Linked DNA regions of Homo sapiens: region 1 is linked to region 2. Evidence: promoter capture Hi-C in 16 types of primary human blood cells and fetal thymus (Javierre and others, 2016). All regions are on one chromosome and are shown on one strand. Each heading gives the region's core, a stretch centred on a gene start or on the middle of the fragment in contact. The rest is flanking DNA. Distances are from core to core; before and after follow the strand shown. Region 1 overlaps MANEA-DT (MANEA divergent transcript). Region 2 holds the start of GPR63 (G protein-coupled receptor 63).

Region 1 (7,031 bases), core at 571-3,070, 1.3 Mb after region 2:
TCACTTTTTTTCACAGTGTTTTTATGTAGAATTTTTTTTTTTTACTTGACATCACTGGAAAGTCAGCAATGTTTTGTTGTAATTATCACATATAGAATGTTATTACATTCTGAATCTTGATTTTGTTTTCAAATATGGGATGGCCATAATAACTGCCACATCCAATTTTTTTATCTCTCATATATACATATAGATTTAATTAGTTCAATAATTTCCTGAATGTAAACAATGTAGAATTTAGTAAATTAATAAGCACTGATGGGAAAGGTCTCCAAGATAAATGAGCAAGTGATTAGTATGTTAATACTTACAAGAGAAATTCACATTATATTAATATAAATTTTAAATATATATGTGCATGTATGATATATAAAAATATCTGAAAGGATATATGCATTGTTACCTATAGGGATGTAACAGAAGGGGAATGAAGGAGAATTTTCTTTTTTACTCTCTGTAGTGCTGTTTTCTTTTTTAATGTGAGCCCATATTTATGTATTTTTTAATTAAAAATACAGCACCAGAAGAATATGCCATTTATCTAATAGATGGTTTCTTGGAAAGAAAAAGAGCTGCATATAAATTCATTTGTGTAGTAAATAGACATTTTAAATGTGTTGCATCAGGGGTAATCAGTCACTGAGAGTCCAAAGACAAAAATGATCCAAAGAAGGAAGAATGGAGAAAAAAAAAATCCCCCATTTTTTTTTCTTTTTTGTCAAATTCTTGTATGGAAAGATTCTAACACAATAAACTAATAGTAGCCTTTGGTTTATCCTAATTAGCATTTATTAAAATCATAGTCCCCACCCCACAAGATCCTTCAGGTTAATCCTATCTTGCTACTAGAAAAGCGGCAGCCATTTATCTTATCTTTTGGCATCAGCATTGAAGAGTCTTCTTTGTATTTCCCAGACCTAAGCAGTTACACCTTCAACCATCTTTTTCTTGCCTCTATTTCAATGGGCCCTATTGTTTGTCTCCTGATTATTTCATGTCTATTTTTCCCTGTCCTAGAAGTTTCATTAGTATTTCCTAGCCATATGCCATTTATACCTTTGCTCATTACTCCTGTCACTGAAGATGAGAAATCAATTTCTGTCCATATCCTCTCCACTTACATTAATCAGAGATATATTTTGTAAGCAATAGAAATTGAATCTGGCAAACCTGAAAACAAATAGACTATGTAAAAAGTTACAGAATTTAGCATGAAGATGAAGGCTAGTACATTAGGTAATGGCAATGGATAGGAAACAAGAGGGGCTAGGAAATTGGGAACACAGCCTCATATAACAGTACAGATTAGGGCACTGCTGCTTTCAGGGCTGCACTGATCTCAAAGCTGCTGACACCACTATGAGTGACTTCTCAACTCTGTGTTGTCTACCTCGTTGCTTCAAGATTCAAATTTTGGATTGAGATCATTTGATTAGCTTACTCTAGGCTGTATGTCTTTTCCTCCTTAGCCTCCTTGAAGTAGAGCCCAGAACTTTTGGCTTTAATGGGAAATTGGGCACAAAACACAGAATACATTATTCTTCCAAAACCTGAAGGATTTTTAGATTCTAAGTAGTAACAAAATAAAATAAACTAAATCCCCAAACAATAGTCCAATTATCCATCACAGTATGCTTCACTGTCCATATAAAGTCTACTTTCTCCCTTACTATTTTATACTTACTGTTTTATTCTTTTAATCCCTATACATTTATAGGGAGTAATATGAAACAGCAATAATTTCTTAATTAACTAAATTGTTCTGTTCTTTTTATCATATCTGGTATCTGTGAAGGTGTAACTAAGGTATTCCTTGACACAGTTTGGGATGCAAAGAATGTAACTCCAATAGTGCCATGAGTAAAACACTAAAGTTTCCACCAATTTATAGCAGTAGATAATTCAGAGAGCCAAACTCATTGTTTCCCCTAATGCTCTGATCCTTTCACTGTACCTACCAGCATCCTGACAGCAAGGAATCCATTCTAACTCTATCCCACATAAATTCACGAACTATTATCAGACCAAGGAAAAAACTTGCCTTGGTAGGTCATGATTAAAATTCACTGGCCTCGTAGTGGTCACAGGTTTTAGGGTGACTTCTTGATGCATTAGATAAGGCTCTTCTAAGAATTGATGTACATAACCCAGAATTAAACTCAGTGTAGGTAACTTCTAACTAAACAGGCCAAGCCCCTTTGGTGAAAGTTTTTCTCATTCTCTGATCCAAGTACTTGCCCAGGTGATGGCCCTCCTGAGTGACAGAGATGGGAGAGCGTTCTGCCTTCCCAAATAAAGAAGGCAGAAAGTTCACCTCTGGTTGAATGGTGCTGTTAAATGCTAATGCATTGATTGACTATATATGGAACATTTCTCCTTAAGGAAACCCTATCCTGAAGGAAACCCTATTCTGCAAACAGGCATGGTGGCAGCTAAGGGAGATGCATGTCTTTAGTGGAAACCAGAGCCAGCAGGGAGATGTAGCACTTCCTGAGTTCGGAAATGACTCCACCAGTTGATATAGGGCCTCTCAGTGTGTTGAAGGAAGGAAGTCCTATGTTTTATGATTGAGCATTAGTGTCATACTACAATCAGCCACTCCCCAAATGTTGCATCACTGAAACTCCAGGTTTCACAGAGAATTTCCTAAGGTATTAGGTTTGAGTTTCTTCCTTCGTGGGATGCTATGGATTCTTTAACCAAACCAACCTAATCTTTCTCCTGCCATAGTACCACCTTCTCCTGCCATGCAAAAAGAAGCAGTTTGCAAAAGTCAGTAAAAGAAAAAAAAAATGCCTTGTTATTTCTCAAAATGATGGGCTCACTTGTCTTCTATTTATATAAGAGAGACCACAGTAATTATTCTCAACAGTATCAGCTACAAGGTGATTTTCTGTGCCTGCGTATTCTAAGAAGTAGCTGGCAATTTCTCTTGTTAAAAGAGAAAAAGAAAAAAACATGCACTTACTCGCTGATAAACATTTTTCTGTTAGAGAACCCAATTAAATAGCAGGCCTGTGTTGTGTACGTCTTTTATACACCCTGTAATGCCAGGTTCCATGAAGGCAGTTCCAGAGATAGTCTAATTCAGAGCTGGGGCTCCAACTCCCAACACATAGTAGGTGCTTGTAGTAGGATGATAATAATTCCCAAAGATACAGAGGTCCTAATCCTCTGAACCAGTGAGTAATAATTCAAATGGCAAAAGGGACTTTGCAGGTGTGAGGAAGGATCTTGAGATGAGAGTTGTCTTGATGGACCCTAAATATAGTCACACATGTCTTTATAACAGGGAGGCAAAGGGAGATTTGACAAAGAAGGCGGCAATGGGACTACTGAAACAAAATGCTAGGCTGCTGGCTTTGAAGATCAGACTAGGGACCAAAAGTAAAGGAACGCAAGCATTTCATTCAAGCTCTAAAAGCCAGAAAAGGCAAGAAAAACCTTCAGAAGGGAGAGTGACCATAATAATACCTCAATTTCAGCCCAGTGAAACTGACTTCAGACTTCTGACCTCCTGAACTGCAGGAGAATAAATGTATGCTTTTTAAGCTACCAAGTTTCTGGTAATTTGTTCTAGCAGCCACAGGAAACTAATACAGTTTTCAACAAATATGTGTTGAATAAATAAATCAATGAACAGTAGGGATTCAATAAATATTACATTAATTATAAGATGCCCAGATTGTTTCTTTGAATGTGAGAGAAACATCATTCTTTAAATGTATCTGCAAAGTAAAAGCTAATTGCATTAATATAAACTGAGTTGTTATTTACCAATTTTTATTCTGGCTGTTTTTGTTTTGGTTTGTTGAGATGGGCAAATATGTTAGCTTCATAATAATTGGTTTTATTTGATTATGCTTTTATTCACAATGTTGAGGGGTGCCTACTTTCAGAAAACATATATTCATCACAAATCTCTACCTCCTAGGAGTTTGCCGTCTACCAAGAAACACAGAGATATACAGTGTGTGGTTTATATTGATTATCTGCTTACCACTGTTTGGATTACTTTAATTATTTTTGTATATGTCTATATCTCAAAAGAGTTTGTGCCCCTGCAAGGCAGTCTTTTCTGCATTCATCTATTTACAGCATCTATCACAATGCTTTCCACATAGCAAGACTTCAGAAATATTTAGTTGAATGTATCTAGTGGCCAGAAATTCATGCTTTATTGACTGAATAAGGAATGAAGGAAACACAGTGTAAGAGTATGTGTGTGGGAGTGTGTGTGTGTGTGTGTGTTTATACATATGTATGATAATTTGGTGGTAACATTTTGTTGTTCTTCTTTCAAAATAAATTCCCTGAGTGTGATGTCTACTCATCTGTTAAAATAAAAATATGCAACAATAAAAGCAAAGCTTATCAAGTTACCATTTATAATTTTACAGCAAATATTTATATATATAAATATGTATATAATATAAATTATTTTTATATAAATATATGTATTCATATAATCTATATGTATTTATATATAATTTTATATGTATTCTATATATGTGCTATCTGTAGTATTTTATGATTCATAGAAAAAGATAATGTGCTCCCAAAAATACGTGCTAAAAATACATAATACAAATTTCATACATACATACATACATTTGCACTGCTTTTGTGGGTATGGAATTTGTTATGAGATACAGTGTATCTTTATTCCACAACATTGACTTTTTTTACAATTTGTATAACTTGATCATGAAAAGTATAGGAATAAAGATCAAAAGAATGTGAAAATACTGAGTATAAAATATTTTTCAAGTGAATATCAATGATATTTCATTAAAACACAAGATAAGGAAATTTTATTCTGGGTTTATTTACCAAGGAACAAAATATTTTGGCTTCTCTTAATTTTTTCCCCTTCAATTGTGATTTCCTTCTGCATATGTTCAAGCTCCCCGGATAACTCATCTTCCTTGTTGTTCCTGTGGCATTTTTGCATCTAGACGTGAGATTTATTTTCCCTCAAGCTCTTACTGTGGGCAGCTCAGTGGTATTCCCTATATTCTAATATGTAGCTCCAAAACACTTACTGCCCGGCGGTACCTGGCTTAGGCTACTTATTAACTTCCTGTCTAATTTCCACAGTCTTACGTCTGCTGGAACATTGTTGGATTTTGGCAACTCATAGAATTTTAGACTATTAAGAGACATTAAGTTTGAGCTGGACACTGTTTATTTTACTTAGTAGAACAATCTCTTCTACAACATTCCAAACAGGTGGTAGCCATACATTGAACAGCCAAGAATAGGTGACTGATTCTCACAAAGTCAGGACAAATTGCTGCAAAGTTTTTATCAAAATAATTCTAAATGAATTTCCTTATTTCTTCCATACAGGTTTCCTAGCTCTCTTTATTGAGCTTTACAAAATACCGTAATACCTCTTCTACAACAAAAATAAATAAATGAATATGTTTCTAACTTTCTTTCAGAACATTTTGACCCCTTTAAAACTTCTCTGCAACTTTGCAAAACATCTTGATAATATCTTTAAGTGTGACAGCCAGAATAGAATAAAGAAACGAGTTGCTGGTACAGAATACAATCTATTTTAGAAAATATTGTCAGTGCAACCTGGTATGCCCAGTCAGGAGGAAAGAAAAGGCACTGATTCTTCATATCAACCCTACTGTAAATTTTACGGGGAAAATTTCTGATGAACACAATTCTGGGTGAACTAACTAATGTGGCTACACAGCCTCTCTCCCACACAAAGAAATGCTAAATCAGGTGTAATTTTAAAATATTTGGTTTTACTATGTAGCCTGAGAGGGAGAGAGAGAAAAAATGAGAGAGAAAAAAATTCTAAGTGTCAAGAACAAGTAGAAAATTTGAAGCCAGTGACTTGGTGGAGAAGATTAGTCGTGGATGAAAGACTCTTTCCTAACTTCTGAAACTGTAATATTCAGCCAAGGAAATGAGACAACTTATTCTTGCATCATAAGGATTTTTTAAAAACTGGACCGAATTACAAAGAGAACTTGCAAAGTTAATAATCATATTGAGATTGGTAACATGCTTCTACCAGAAATAATAGGTAAAGTATAAAACTATTAGAATATAGATTATTTCAACGAAGCACTTAAGGGAATTTATTTATTGTACTTACATATCATCTTGTACCTGAAAAAATAATTCACTTTATTTTAAGAAAACATTAGTATGTACAAAACTTTAGCACATTCTAGGCCACTAAAGATTGTTTCAGGAAATACCAAATAACAACATATAAACTGTATTCTTTGACAAATATTTAATGAAATTAAAAAACAATAACAAAACAGTAGCCATTCATCAGGTATAGGAATGAAATGACACAGACCAATGATTCATGGATTAAAAAAGAACTAAAAGTAGAGATTATATTTAGAAAAGAATTATTTTAAAAGGGCTTCATGTTAAAATATGAGCATTAATGTAAACCCAAAAAGTCAAAAAAAGGGAGAAATAGTGATAACAGGAGAAAGTAATAAAATAGAAAATAAAGATACCAGAGTCTTTAAAAAAATAAACTATTAAAAATAAATAGGCCTCCAACAGAAATGAGGGGGAGGGCAAAAAGAGAAAAGGAACAAATAATATCAGGAATGGAAAAGGAGTAATAAAAGTACTGTAAGCTTTTAAAAAGTCATCAGAGAATGCTAAGAATAAATGCCAGAACATTTGAAAACTTAGATGTTAATTTTTTAAAAATGTATAAATGATGAAAGCACACTCAAGAATAGGAAAACTGGCCATGCACGGTGGCTCACACCTCCCAGCACTTTGGGAGGCCTAGGCGGGTGAATCACGAGGTCAGGAGTTAGAGACCAGCCTGGCCAAGATGGTGAAACCCCATCTCTACTAAAAATAGAAAAAATTAGCTGGGCATGGTGGCGGGCACCTGTTAATCCCAGCTACCTGGGATGCTGAGGCAGGAGAATCACTTGAACTGGGGAGGCGGAGGTTGCAGTGAGCCGAGATGGCACCACTGCACTCCAGCCTGGGTGATAGTGCAAGACTCCGTCTCAAAAAAA
Region 2 (7,371 bases), core at 3,836-6,335:
CCATTATTTTTGCAGGATTATGAAATTCTTCAATATGCACCCCAATGACATATTTGTTTTATATATAACTGTCATGCCATTATCACATCTAACAAAATTAACAATAATTCATCTATAGTATCAAATTACTTAATCCATAATCTGATTTTCCTGATTATTTCAAGGATTATCTTCACAGGTTGTTTGTACCAAACAGGACATACAGTCCACACGTTGCAGTTAATTATGATCCTTAAATCTCTTTTACTCTTTTGTAGTCTGACCCCTGTTTTTTCATGTCATTGATTCCATATGGAAATCAGGTCACTTTGCTTATTGAATGTTTGACATTCTGGATTTGATTGATTGCTTTCTTCAGATGATTTCTAACTTGATCCTCTGTCCCCTGTATTTCCTGTTAGGTCTAGAGGCTTGATTAGATTCAGATTCCGTTGCTTAGGCCATAAAACCTCTCAGTGGTTCTGGGTACTTCTGATTTTGTCATATCATGAAGTACATGGTATCTGCTTATCAGACTTGTAGTTTATAGTGTTTTTCCCCCTTTATCTTCGTTGTTATGTCTCTTTGGGGGAATTTAAATTTATGCTACCTTTATTATCTTTCTCCAGCCAAAGTTCAGAAAAGTCTGGATTTACATAGACAAAACAATCAGTCAAAATACAGTGGTCTAGATACTGAATTTCTTGGACAAGTTGTATTTGAAAATGTTTACTCTTTCATACACAAAGGGATTGATTAAATAGGGGAAAAAGTTTGTAAGTTATGAACACTTAAGAGGGATTACTGAATGTAAAATTACAAAAAGCACATCACTAATTACTATGTTTAGAAACTACACTATTAAAAGTTAGGATGAAAATAGCTGGAATTTAATGAGTCATCTGCTAATTATTCAGCTTATGGATTTCTAATGCCACTTACTTCTAGCCTTTCTGCTTTTCCTTAGGGAGTTTTTGGTGGTATTTTTACTGCCTTTTAACACCTCCAGAAACGACTCTATGCTTACAACTGACCATAAAATGTACATGTGGAGAGACACATGAAATATTATGACTCAGGATTCATGCTGTGTTACTGAGGTAAACCATGAGCAGTTTACACCACAGTTGAAGATTTTTCAGGGGCAAATGCAGAGTAGAAAGTAGTTAGAAATCTGCTGACTACCTGGCATGCTATCTATGGGAAGAAACGTAACTTATCAAAGTCAATGTACTCACTGAGGAAAGAGACAGGCTCCTCAGGTGCTAGATGTGTTCTATGGCTCCAACTCAGGGTTCTCAGCCATGATTGCACATTGGAATCACTTGGGCAGCTTTTAATCTCACTGATGTCCAGAGTCAACCCTGAAATTGAATCTGGGTCTCTGAGGATGGGCCCCAGGCAACGGTATTTTAAAAAAAACCTCTCAGGTGATTCTAATGTGCAGTCAGGGTTGAAAATATCCAATCTAGTCAATAAGAGGTGGCATTTACAAGTCTTACTGTGTGCACAGGACTGTGCAGAAAATCTCTTGCACATAAAGAAATTGATGCTTGGAGAGATGTTATTTGCTCAATGTCTTGCCTCAAAACAGTTTCACACCTAGTCTATTTAGCTTCAGAACCAGAGGCTTTTGAGCTTACTGTGAACATTAACCAAAGTAAGACATTGAATTCATGTCATAACTCAGAACACGCATGATAATGAAACACAAGTTTAACAAATAATACTTATTAAGTATGATGCATGCTGATATTTTAATTAAAATAATACTAGTCAAAACTTAGTAAAATGACTTCATGACTTGGAGTTTGAAAAACTTTTCTAAACCATGACAGTACAGGTTTCATTTCTGTTCCTGCAAGTGGCAAGATCTTTTTCCCATCAATGCCTTCTCATTTTGTTTGCTTTCTTGCTTGGAAAATCTTTCCTTTTTCCTCTGCATTTAAAAAAGACCATCTAATTGCTTCCTCGCTAGAAAGTGTTTCCAAGACTATTCCAGTCCATAGTGTCTCATTTTCTGATGCCTATTTTTAATACACGGAGATCATCCCACACTTTTTACACTAAATTATATGATATATTGTGATGTTCTGTAATTGTCTTATATCTTAGATAGTTATGTCTCTTTGAGGACAGTGACTACATTCTATGCTTTTGCTTCTATATCCTTCGAAATGTCTAGCAAAAGCACATGTGTGTTAGGGACATCACAGATACTAAAAAACAGCTATGTACCCTACACAAGTCAACCTTTGAGCTTTCATTTCTTTAGCTCTGAAATGAAAGGGATGTTTTAGGTTATTCTAAAGTCTCTTCCAGTTTATTAGTCTAAATTTCTATGATATATGAGGATTTCTATAAAATGCACAAATGAAGAAAAAAATACAAAACTTTTTTTTTTAGCAACTACTGTAAAAGAAAAGTTCTTGTGTGAGACAAAAAAAGCCTGAAATTTTTTGTCACTTTTTGGTAGGCAAAATAAACACCTTTTCAGAGAGAAAGATAACATCTTTCTCTCTGAAAAGATAAAGTTACTGAAGTTTAAAAACAAAGCTGGGCTCTTTGGCACTTGGATACTGAAATGTGATTATTCGTAGGCCACTTTTTTTTCCCCCAAGTTGAATATATATATATATATCAGGGAATTTCCATGAGCTCTTATCAAATTAAATTGATTGCATAACTAAAAAGGCCTAACAATGAATGTGGGCTTGAGGTACATGGAGGCAGGTTTATAATTTAGGGAAAAATAATTGAATACAATCATGGTTTATATATTGTTTGTTTGCAGGTGGTTTGTGAAATGTCACAAATGTCACTCAGGATCTTCTCAGTGGCTCTGAGGCCAAAGGATGTGGCTGGTTGGCTCAATTACTAGCACCTCCATGACCCATCAGCATTCTCATTCTTCTGATCCTGAGACTGTTGGTAAAGGAGCAGAGAGGTGGTCAGTCCCCTTGGTGACAGTGGTGGTGATGTGTGTATACTGGGGAATGGGGATTGTAGTGGGCATTTATAGTCTTTATCTACTCAACATTCTTTTGCCTTCTTTATTAACAACACTTTAATTTTCCTTTGGGAAACCTCTTTCTTTCTACTCGGTCCCTGTGGTTTGGGTATATATGAAGGGTACATACAATTATTTCCCTTGACCTTTTTGTAGATAAAGGCAAATAACCCCAGCCTGGCAGTGTGCATTCCATCCCATAGTTACAATGGTTAGTTCAGAGATGAACGCAGGATCCACGTGGGTCTGGTGAGACATTCTTCAGCTTGCTTTCTTTCTGATGCGACTAATTGCTAAGGAGGTTGGATGTTAAGACTGGAGATGTAGGTCTTCCCTCTGTTTAGAGAAATAAAACCAGTGCAGTGAAAGCACAATGAAGACAGGGAGAGAAATTGAGTCCTGATGCTCTTTGAGTATCTGGAGTAAAAAGGATTTCTAAGAACGTGTGTGTGTGTGTGTGTGTGTGTGTGTGTGTGCGCGCGCCAGTTCTACTTATGGGATTTATAAACATATGAACCAATAAATTCCAATGCCCTTTGCTGCAGGTTTTGCTAACTCAGTTTGAGTTGTGTGCTGGCCACATCCAACTATCCTGACTTCACTTTTGCTCGCTGATAATCTCCTTTCCCATCTTAAAAGTTTGGTCCAGGCAAGACCATGTCTCCTGCTTTTATTGAGCCCAGGGCTTATTTCGTCTCCATCTGGTTACAGAAGTTTCTTCAACCTTTTGTATAGTCTCCTCTTGCCTTATTCTTCTACAAGTTCAACACAAGTGCTTCTTTCACAGCTGTAGGTGGCAGGAGGCAAAGAACTGAGATGTTCTGGTTCAGTCTCAGGGTAGTGATATGCAAGTGCCTTTGTGTGAATGAGGAAATGCCACTCTCTCCGAGCTTGGTGCTAGGACTGGTGCTCTGGAACCCAGGCTAGATCTTAACTCCAAATTGCCTGCCCACCTCCTCAGACAGAGGACACAGTGCAGAGTACAAACTGCACAACACTATACTGAAGTCCCATAGGTCCAAGAAGCAAGGGTTGGAACTATGAGGTAGAAAAACAAGTCCGTGGACAGTAGCAACCCTCTGCTGCTCATGCCCACTGCTGCTGTGGTCTCTTCCTAGGGTGACGATAGCTGCTGATGCTGGGAGCCTCCTGGGCATCACCACCTGAGGCTGTGGCCTCAGTAATGATCACATATGTTGATAATAGCTGAAAATATCACTTGTCACTGAAAGCAGCATTTTCCACTGTCTCAAGATGATACTTTTTCTGGGGGGTCTTCCTGAGTTGTTTGGCATCTTTACAGCCCATGTGTTGATGAAAGTGAATCGTTTTAGAAATCCAGTGGGAGGCCAGCTGGGGATTGGCCATTGGAAGAGAACAGAGCACCGGGTAAAGGAGGATACCTGGCAATTCTCCCATGCCACACATCAGGGACACCTTCAAGCATTGGTCTAGGGGCCCCAGCTGGCTTTTAGTTATTTCAGTCTTCTGGACGCCTGCGTGAGACCCTCATCATTGTGTTGGAAATGAGGAAGAATAACCAAAGAAGAAACGCGAGTAGCCTCGGGGAACGCAAATCCACTGGGCAGTAGCCACTGGAGGTGCACTCTGGGGGCCCGTGGGAGCGGGAAACCAGGACCCTAAAAGGACTGCCAGGGATTAGGGGCGGGGCGACCGTCTGGGAGCGAGGCGCGGGGTGCAGGGCGCAGGCCAACGACGAGGGTTGCCCCAGTGCCGGGTGGGCGCACTTGCGGTACCCTCGATGCCTTTGCCCAGGCGGAGGAACGATGCGACCTGAGCATAGAGGGGTTCAGGGCAGGGAGCGGTCGAAAGGGGCCGGCGATCCGCCCTGGGGCAGCTCGGGCGTGGCCTCCAGGGATCTCTCCGTCTCTACTTGCCTCCTCCCTCTTTACTTGCCTCCTCCCTCTTTACTTGCCCCCTCCCTTTTTACTTGCCTCCTCCCTCTTTCTCTTCTCTCACTCACCTCCCGGTCTAAAACCGGGGCCGGCGCCTTTAAGAGGGAGCGTTGGTTACCCTGGGGGCGGGAACCCCTCGGCGGCTCGCGAGGCGGCGGCGCTCGTCCGCGATGCTCCTCACTTTCAGCTCCAGCTCCCGCCACCGCCGCCTGTATCGCCGCCGCCGCCACCACCTCCTCTTCGTTGTCCTCCTTCCTCCTCCGCCTGGCAGCGTTGTTCTCTGCAGCGGAGGAGAGAAGTGCTATGTCAGGAAAGTTCCGGGAGGGACTACATGGAGCCATGCTCCCTGGGCTCTTCCGCGGGCGCCCGCGCGCTGCCCTTCGCTTGAGGTGAGGTGAGGCTCGGGATCCCCGGCCCGCGATCCCCGGCCCGCGGGACAGGTAGCCGCTCGGGGCGGGGAGCGCTTGCATCCGCTGCGCTGGGCAGGGCGAGCAGTTTGGCGGAGTGCGGGGAGGAATGAGGCTGGAGAGACCGAAGTTGTGCCGGAGAAGCTTGGGTTTTCGGGAGGGTTTTTGCAGCTGGACTGGAGTTATTTCGGTCGGCGCCACACGGTGGGGACCCGGCGGGGACTCGGTTTCTCCCGGGCCGCCCGCCCCCCTCCCCTGCCCGTCTGAGCGGTTAGGCCTTCTAGGAAAACGGTCGGCTGCAGAGGGGCACCCCATGCCGGCTCCTTTCCTGCTGGGCTGTTCTGGTTGAGAATTCAGTGCTGGGAGTGAGAGGAAGGAGATGAGCTCCACTTGAACTTTTACACGGTGGTCTCGCTGCTTGAGGGCTGAAATTTACCTTGTTTGCGAGAGCGAAAGGTCCTTTCGCGCTCCAACAGTTAAGAGAGGTTCCCTCTTCCATGTGGTTCAGCTTGCGGCGCTGTGTGTTGCATCCTTGGCCGGTTTTCAACGTCGCCCTGATTTCAGTCTTTTCTCCTCTGCCCCTTTTCGGAAACATTCTTCTTTTTAATAATAAAATATGTTGTGGAGGCTCAGAGTGCTTAAAAAAAAAATCCAACAACATATCTTTATGAAAATTTCCCCCAGGGCTTGCCCAAATTTTCAAAGAGATCGTTTAGTCTTGGATGAGACTGAGTCTCGACACTTAGGGAATACAGGCATCCCTATAGTAGCATGCAGGTTTTTAGTGAGGTAGGATGAAGTTTAAACCATATGTTTTTAAAATAGGATTTCTCTTTGTTTATTGGGTGAGCTTGTTTTTCATTATGTCTTAGATTAAGAAGCCTTCAACCAGTTCTAGGAGTAGTGTTTCTAAGAATCATGGATAAAAACCTCATGTTTCTTGCATAAGCTGATACTGCTTCAGACATTCTAATCCATTGACGAGGTATGTAATACGTGTTTCATTTAATGAAACCTAACATAAAAGTACATTTATTGCAGACGTGGATAAGTTTTTTTTCCCACGTGTCCCGTGGGTAAAGGAAGCCCCATTTTCTCACACCCCTAGGTCTCTGCCACACCTCTATTCCTGTTTGCCTTATTCACTCACATTGCCAACTACAAATCTAAGGTGCTGATGAAAAGTCCCTATATTTTGTAAAATGTTGCATAGCCAAAATTTTAGTGACATAATTGATTACATCAATTATGAGCATTCAGATCATTTTGAACAATAAAAACAGAATGTGGGAGCTTATTTAAATAAAAGAGTGCCTTGACGTATTTCTGGTATATGCGTTACGTACAATTTTGTGTGTGAAAAGTATACTACCAAGGCAGACGGGATAGTGTAGGAAACATATTGTTTGTAATGGGAAGTTTTCGAAGAAAATCATCCCAGAATAACCAGTAATACTGTAAAATTTTGTTTGGGATATAGATTTTTATCTCTAAGTACAGTTTTGTCACTTTGCTGTAAAGTATACCAGTACCGAAACTCAAAAAAAGAACCCACCATCTCAAGCATTTTCTGAAAATTTCAGCAAGCTGAACATTCTTGGAGAAAAATTTGCTTAGGAAAAATAAACATAACTAAAACCCCTATGTAGTTACTGTTTTACCTTAAGTTTGCTGGACTGCAAGCAAGAAAGTAAGAATTTAGTGTTCCTAAGTGGATGTGACTTAGTTCCTAGAGTTACTTGAGCACCTTGAGATTTTGTTTATGGTTTATTTAATTTGGGTTGATTGTTTTGTGAATGAGTATTTTGGAAATGATACACACAGAGGTGGATTTGTATATGTATATATCCATATCACACATATATCTATATTTATGTATCCATACTATATATAGTATAACTATATATACCATATCTGTATATGCTATTGAGTATATAAAAAACATGAAAACCATTTAGGGACCTAATAATACATGTGCACCAGGAACAGTAGGTCTAAAATATCAGCTAAAAATAGTTATTGCTAGGGCTTGTCATCTTTTCAGCATTTTAGTCAATAT

The links. The method cuts DNA at HindIII sites, captures the fragments that hold promoters and counts their contacts. A CHiCAGO score of 5 or more calls a contact.
Region 1: a fragment that was not itself captured here is called in contact with the fragment with the promoter of GPR63 in region 2 in 4 of 17 cell types (fetal thymus, non-activated CD4 T cells, naive CD4 T cells and 1 more); the score reaches 7.2 in fetal thymus.

Annotation. Positions count from the first base shown.
Region 1 is chr6:95,567,801-95,574,831 of GRCh38, reverse strand. The region is part of intron 1 of MANEA-DT (MANEA divergent transcript); the gene reads left to right. Among named protein-coding and RNA genes, the nearest start is that of MANEA-DT, 6.1 kb to the left of the region's middle. The HindIII fragment of the contact is 5,105 bases long and covers 1-4,372 here.
Region 2 is chr6:96,835,191-96,842,561 of GRCh38, reverse strand. It overlaps GPR63 (G protein-coupled receptor 63), which reads left to right and starts at 5,085. Exons shown (of 2, transcript NM_030784.4): 1 at 5,085-5,294. RefSeq lists a silencer at 5,526-5,575. The HindIII fragment of the contact is 5,695 bases long and covers 1-5,458 here.